Regions from separate parts of the Homo sapiens genome. Here region 2 is linked to region 1. Evidence: promoter capture Hi-C in 16 types of primary human blood cells and fetal thymus (Javierre and others, 2016). All regions are on one chromosome and are shown on one strand. Each heading gives the region's core, a stretch centred on a gene start or on the middle of the fragment in contact. The rest is flanking DNA. Distances are from core to core; before and after follow the strand shown. Region 1 holds the start of CENPC (centromere protein C). Region 2 holds the start of TMPRSS11E (transmembrane serine protease 11E).

The links. The method cuts DNA at HindIII sites, captures the fragments that hold promoters and counts their contacts. A CHiCAGO score of 5 or more calls a contact.
Region 2: the fragment with the promoter of TMPRSS11E here is called in contact with the fragment with the promoter of CENPC in region 1 in 4 of 17 cell types (non-activated CD4 T cells, total CD4 T cells, total CD8 T cells and 1 more); the score reaches 7.7 in non-activated CD4 T cells.

The regions. Positions count from the first base shown.
Region 1 is chr4:67,543,834-67,547,487 of GRCh38, forward strand. It overlaps CENPC (centromere protein C), which reads right to left and starts at 1,670. Exons shown (of 19, transcript NM_001812.4): 1 at 1,505-1,670; 2 at 316-362. The coding sequence starts at 1,522. RefSeq lists enhancers at 1,425-1,664, 1,442-1,992 and a silencer at 1,815-1,954. The HindIII fragment of the contact is 5,245 bases long and covers 559-3,654 here.
Region 2 is chr4:68,446,141-68,449,426 of GRCh38, forward strand. TMPRSS11E (transmembrane serine protease 11E) reads left to right here and starts at 1,323. Exons shown (of 10, transcript NM_014058.4): 1 at 1,323-1,383. The coding sequence starts at 1,373. The HindIII fragment of the contact is 3,931 bases long and covers 1-2,394 here.

The sequences.
Region 1 (3,654 bases), core at 420-2,919:
TGAATAAGCTACATCTTTCTAATTTTACCATTTGATTCATTCTACAAAATGCTTTTCCCATGGCAGTCACTTAGTCAGAACTGAGACTCCCTCTTCCTGGTTCCACTATTTTATCAGGTGAATTTCTTTTTTCACAGCCACAAAGTCATTGCACTGCTTGCATTAACATTCCCGTTAGTATAAGATGACTACCCTTAATCAGTGGGCACAGAAATCATTATATTAGTCAGAGGTGATAGTTTTTCCTTTCTTCATTTAAAAATCTATTAACGATGAGAATAAAAATAATCTTAAAAGCTTAAGTACGTAAATCACCTGGAAGGTCGACAAAATCTTCTTCTGTAGCCATTTTTGAGATGATCCTGAAAGAAAAGTAAATCATCAATTTGGTTTCTTTAAGATAGAGTCGAGTAAAATTTATTTTCAAAGTAACTTCATCCAGTATGGGCATGCTATACACCAAACATCTCCTAAGGGCTCAAAACAATTTTGAGGTTATGTTATGACATAACATAGGTTATGACAGGCATTTAAAAACTGAACTGCAGGCATCTGGTAAGCTTTATTCCGCTTCTCTCCCCACAGTGAGAATGGCTTTATTGCTTTCTTCTGATTATATATAATGTAAACAATATATGTGCTCATAGTAAAAAGTATAGATTATATTATTCTTTCATACAACTCTTTATGTTTATATGTATAACGTCACATAATGGGAGATCATCGAAGCTGAAGATTTTCTTAGAAGGGGAGATAAATTAGAAAAGAAATGATACGGATTTTTATATAGTAACCATAACCAAAGTATGAAATATAGAATAGTGAACACCAAAGAAGTCCAGAAATATGTAAACAAAATGAGTTGTCGCCCCCATTAGTCATTCACAGCTTGTACCTTTTAACTGATAGCTGTCTTTCAGAAGAGTTTGTCAATAACATATGCTCCATAAATCAGCCTCAAGAACTGCATAAAAGGCCACCATTTTGACAGAAGAACTGAAAACGTCAAATTATTTCGAGACGTACTTGTTACATAATCTGTTTCTCCCAACTACCAAGTGTGACGCAAAGACACACTTTTAAGGCGTTTCAATACTTCTACCATGGGGAGAAAAGTTATTTGGAGGCCTAGGAACTGGAGCTAGACTAAAAAGCAGAAGCCAAGATCGCGCCACTGCACTCCAGCCTGGGGGACAGAGCAAGACCCCGTCTCAAAAACAAAAACAAAAAAAAACCCAGCAGAAATCACAAGCACCTCTCAAGAGTAAGACGTAGGCACAGACGAAATGACGACATGAAAACTTAAGAAATAATAAAAGTACAGTAAATTAACTCTGGTTATCGACACACGATCACACTTGATTTCAAAAATTCCTGCGGCTTTCCCACTGAAATCCCTCAGAGATCACAGCCTCAGCCTAGCATTTCCTTCTCCCCAGCCTCGGGCGCCCGTGCCCCAGCCAGCCGCTCAACCACTCGCCTGGAGCGGGGGGCCTGCACTTACCAGACCGGACGCAGCCATGTTCCGGCCCCGCTGAGCCAGCGCAACTGTCTGAGGTGGAAGCCCACACGGACCACAGCTCCAGGAAGCCGAGCAAGAAACGAATCGCCGGAATACCAGGCCGCGGCCAAGCAATAACCTTAAGTCTCAGGCGACTGCCGCGAGAGCTGCGATCCGGAAGGCGCGCGCTAACAACACTCCCCCGCCATTGGCTCCGCCCTCAACAAACAAGAACGCTTGGCCTGTGCCTGGGTTTGAACCCGGAGACACATGCGCAAAACGGGCCGCGCCGTCCAATAGGAAGCAAGCCGTTAGTGGGCTCGCCCCTTCATGCTCCAGGCCAACGGCCCTCCAGCCTGCAGACCCACCCGCCCGCCCTACCTCTAGCCGCTCTGCTCTTCCCACCTCCCTTCCTCAGCGCCGCGCCCGGGACAGGCGCGAGACTGGGCTTTTATTAGGAAGGCACGATCCTGGGAACCGCTCCTTGTGCCCAATGTAAAACTTCTCAACAGTTCTATTAAGGAATAATAAGTAATACTTGGAAGGATGAGAGGTAGAAATTGCAGACGACTTTTTTTTTAATAGAATCTTTTTTTGAAGAGATTTTTCTAATGCAGATTCGTCAGCCACGCCCAGCCCATCTAACCATCATCTCTGAAAATAATTGAATAATTATGTATAATAATGGTGATGATGGCTTGTATTCTTTTTCAAGTATGTGGGCGATATTTTTATGATGCATTGCCAACAAATGACCCACGTAAATATCTATCATTTAAGTATGATGCACTGAAAAGAATTCTATACAGAATCCTGAAACCTGCCAGCCATTGACTAGCTATGTTATGGAGGGCAAAATTGCGGCACCATTCTGGGTGTTTCCATAGTGATAGAATGGAAGTCTAAATTAGACGCTCTGAAGACTTCTCACCTGACCAGTGTATGATTCTATGAAGCTGTATCTTATTTTATTATTTAATTTAAAATTACAAGAAAATTCTAATCAGAAAATAGTTTACTAATTGAATAAATACATTAATCAGGAGTTGAGCTAATAGATTTTTAAAACATGTAGTGCTTTAACAAATGCTGTCAACTATGAAGGCCAATTTTTTTATTTTATTTATTTTTTTGATAGAAAAAAAGGAACTATGATCTCTGACTGAAATTAGGCCTGGATTGCACTCCATTCCATTAATTCTGCCATTATGGGCAACTAAGTTATCTGTTCCTTAATTCTCTTGTCTGCAAAATGAGAATACTATTAAAGTGGTTGAGATGTTGTAATTGAATAATTCCTGTTAAGATCTAAGCACAATGTTTGGAACATAGTAAGAATTCAATAATAAAGCTATTGGAATCATTATGGAGAGTTTTTTACTATGTTTGGCAGTTTTGCCAATCAGTCCAACTTATAATTTGGTGCTGTCACATTTGGAATAGATAATGATAAACACTAACATTTATTGACTGCATACTCTATGCCCAGTTCTGAAATGCTTTGCATGCATTGAAGAGAACAATTAATATTCCTGTTTTATAAACAAGGGCACTGAAACACAGAGAGCTAAGTGTCTTACCCAAGATCACATCACCACTAAATGGTAGGATGGGTTATTATCCCAAGAATTCTCACTCCACAACTGAGCTCTTAATCACTACACTCTTTGCCTCTGGGTAAGAAATTTTAGCAAGCACGATTATAGATGTAAAGTCCCACATGTAAAATTATATCCTCCTGCTTCCACTGGAAACTAAGTCCCACACTTATTTTGAGAAATTTGGAATGCAATGGCTTGTGCTGCTGCAGAAAGCAGGCCACAGAGGGCGTTGAGGATTAACTGTTCTAAAGAAAATAGAGCAGTACTCTTATAAAAACAGTTGTGGAGACTCCACAGTTTCCAGAGAAACGTTTTACTTCCATATGTACTTGTTGTAGTACTTAATAGCCCACCATGGTTTTAGTATCCTAAAATAGGATTGCTAATTAATGGGGGGAGTAATATTTATTTAAAAACCCAAGTTTGTCGTTATAAATCTCCCCCCAAAATACATCAAAGATTACTTCTTATGAACTGCTAGGACAATCTTGAAGTTTTCTTTCACAACTACTTACCTAGTTAAGGGGTGTGTGTGCATGTGTGTATTTACAT
Region 2 (3,286 bases), core at 73-2,572, 900 kb after region 1:
CCCAGAAGTTTTTACTGTTATTATTGCCTCTTTATTTTTGGCTAAAGTGTAATTTTTAAATGAGTATACAGAAACCTAATACTATATATTGAATGACTTTAAGTAAATAAATATCCATGCTATTCATCAGGATAAGTGACCTAGTGACCAGAATAAAAAGGATATATGTTGGTAGCCCCTAGCACAGTATGCCTCAGCACAGAGGTTTCTTGGGTTACTGCTAGTGAATGATTCCAATTCTTGGCCGTCTGATCCCACACATTACATAAATTCCAACTCCTGCATCTGTTTAGGTGAGCTGTTGGCTAAATGGATATGTAATGAAATTAAACAATATTTTTAAGGTGCTTTTTAGGATGGGTTATACCCCCTCTTTTTCTCCTCCTTTCCTTGCAACCTGCCCTCTACTCATTCTTTTTATGCATATTTTTGAGAGCCTGAATATGCTAGGAAGAGGGTTTCAGTCTGTTAAGAATTCACAACCTTGTGGAGTTGAGATACAATTAATAAAATTTCTAGTATAATGAGGTAAGTATTATGATACCATGAAAGCACAGAGGAGAAACACCTACTCTGTTTTGTAAGGATTAGGGAAAGCAATTTAGAGATTATACCTAACACAAACACACAGATATTTGCATAGTATGTGAGCACACGTTTAAAAAAATGTAATTTTCACCCTAGAAATAAGACAGTAGTGATTCAGCGTGAGTTGATATGCCTGTCTCCACTATAATGAAAGAAATATAACGTCTTAAGTATGGGTTGACATTTGCAAACTAACTGATTTTTCTAGAAGAATGATGCCACATAATTTAAAAATATTAATGCTTTTCTAATCTCTAGTGTATTTTCAATGGCTAACATAGTTAAAACCAAAGTGAAATTTTTATTATGTACATAATCGAATGCAAATTGTGTCAGGCTAGTTTAAAAAATATGAATGTCAGTCCTGGCTTGGCAATTTAATAACTATTTGGTTTTTGACCAAGTCATTTAACTTAATTAAACCTCAGTTTCTTCTCTGTAAACAAGAGAAGGTCAAGCAAGATAGTTTTAAAATTTCTTTCCAAATTTATACGTCTGACTTTTCTAAAAAATCTGGTTTACACTAATACTTAAAAGAAATTATCTTAAAACAATAAATTATAAATTTATTTTTTGCTCTTGCTCCCTGTAAAATTTGTCCTTGTCCTGCTAGTCACATATAGTCCCCACTACACCAGCCAAGACTTGTCAGACTGGTTCTGTTGAGATCATCAGTGACTTATTTCCTCACTTCAATTCAGCCCACAAAGTCATTGATAGAGCTGGATTCACACACTTGGATGTAGACCTCGACCTTCACAGGACTCTTCATTGCTGGTTGGCAATGATGTATCGGTGAGTTAGTTCCCTTTTTCTTTCTAGAAGTCTTAAGGTAACTTTTAGTTTAAAACAGTATGAGCCACACCAAGGAATGTGTAGATCTACAGTTTATTATTTTTTTAAATATAGAAACATATTTTTGAGATTTTACATAAAATTATGTCAAGAAAAAGATTTCTATTCTTTCTGTATTAGTGTTTCCTGTCCTCTTTTGTTGTATCCCATGTGTTTTTCTGTTTACTTTTAGAAGGTTTCTACACAATGTAAAGGTACATGGTGTTTGACAGCTGTCTTTTAGTTAGTTTGGCCATATGTTTCAAGAAAGATATAACATATTTTTAGCTTGGGCTTTGTTTGTCTTATTGAGAAACACTTTTATTTTAGAAGGTGTACATGAAAAAAAGTCTGAAATAATGCAGAAAAAAATGTTTATTTCTGTAAGTAGTTAAAAATTTAAAAACTCTAGATGTTTTGAAAGAATCAGAAACAACTGAAGAAAATAATATGACTAAATTATTATAGCCTGATTTAAAAAATAAATCCACTGATATGCCTGGCCATAGTCAACTTCTCCAAAGATAAGTCATGATCATTTTGAGGTTTTCTTTCAAAGTTAGAAACTAATCAGTAACAAGGTTTTGGGGTACTAGTTTTGTCTTTGAAAATAATTTTATCTCCTGATTAAAATTTATTTTCTCTGATTCTCATATTGGCATATCATTTTTTATTAGTTTTTACTTTGAGAACAGTTTGAAAATGTTAAACTTTGAATGAAATCTGTGGTCTTCATTTAACATGGAAAAACAGGTTCTGTCATCAGTTGAAAGTTCTACATACTTGTTATTAGAAGTTTAATACTCTTCTGTACATATCCATGAAGCAACTAAAAGCTACGGATACTAAACATTTTGTTGGGCTTATCAAGGCTCCCTGCCTTTTGCAAGTATTTCTTTACAACCAATGATGGTTTTGTATCCTATTCTCTTTTTCTCATTGACTTTACTATAGAAAACAGTGCTTCAAGAAAGCTTCCAATAAACTTAACATACTAAATAGATTACAAGCCTTATCTATGGTATATGTCAGAGATTTGGAATTTGGTTATAAATGTGTAGAGGCGGTATAATGTGGGAATACTGGAGTGAATTTTTCTGAGTGTAGTCTCTAATTTGAAGCAAAAGATGTGACTATTTTTAAAAATCCTGCTGCAGAATAGATGCAAATAATCTCTCATGGAAAAAACCAAAAACCAAAACCAACCATCTAACAAACAAAAACGTCTTCCTGATCTGAAGATTGTATGAAAGATGAAGCACATCTATGTTTGAGTGGGTCTAGATGAGATAAAATGTTAAGAGCATGTACTAGAGCAAAAAAGGATTAAGTTTATTATTCACATTTGCTGTCGTAAATGTGCCAACAGGAGTGTTATCGAGGAAGAGGGATAATTGAAATCCTAGGATATAAGTAGACAATTTCTTCTTAAGGTCATTGGTTTTAACTCAGAAAGAATACAAGAAACAGGTGGGGAATTTTATTAAATAGCATGCTCCTTCCTTTTCAGTCAGATTTCGGATAGCCTTCTCCCTGACTCTACCTGAATAAGAATCAGTTTTTTTTTTTTTTTTTTAGAATTTAAGGGTAGGAAAAAATTTAAACTGGGTAAGCATTATTCTTCTTGTACTGCCATTTTCTCCAAACTCTTATTTTGGACTATTCTTTGAGCATGAAGAGATCAACACATGAATTTTATAAACACACAACAGAAAGTTAAAGAAAACTCTATCAGGCATAAGTTTATAGAGAACAGATTTGGGAAGAGAAGAATGTGTCCATTAAATATATTTATTGGTCATAGGGGTGTATACTAACTGTATTTATCAGCAACCACTGAGAAGAAGTGAAAATAAGCAGACTG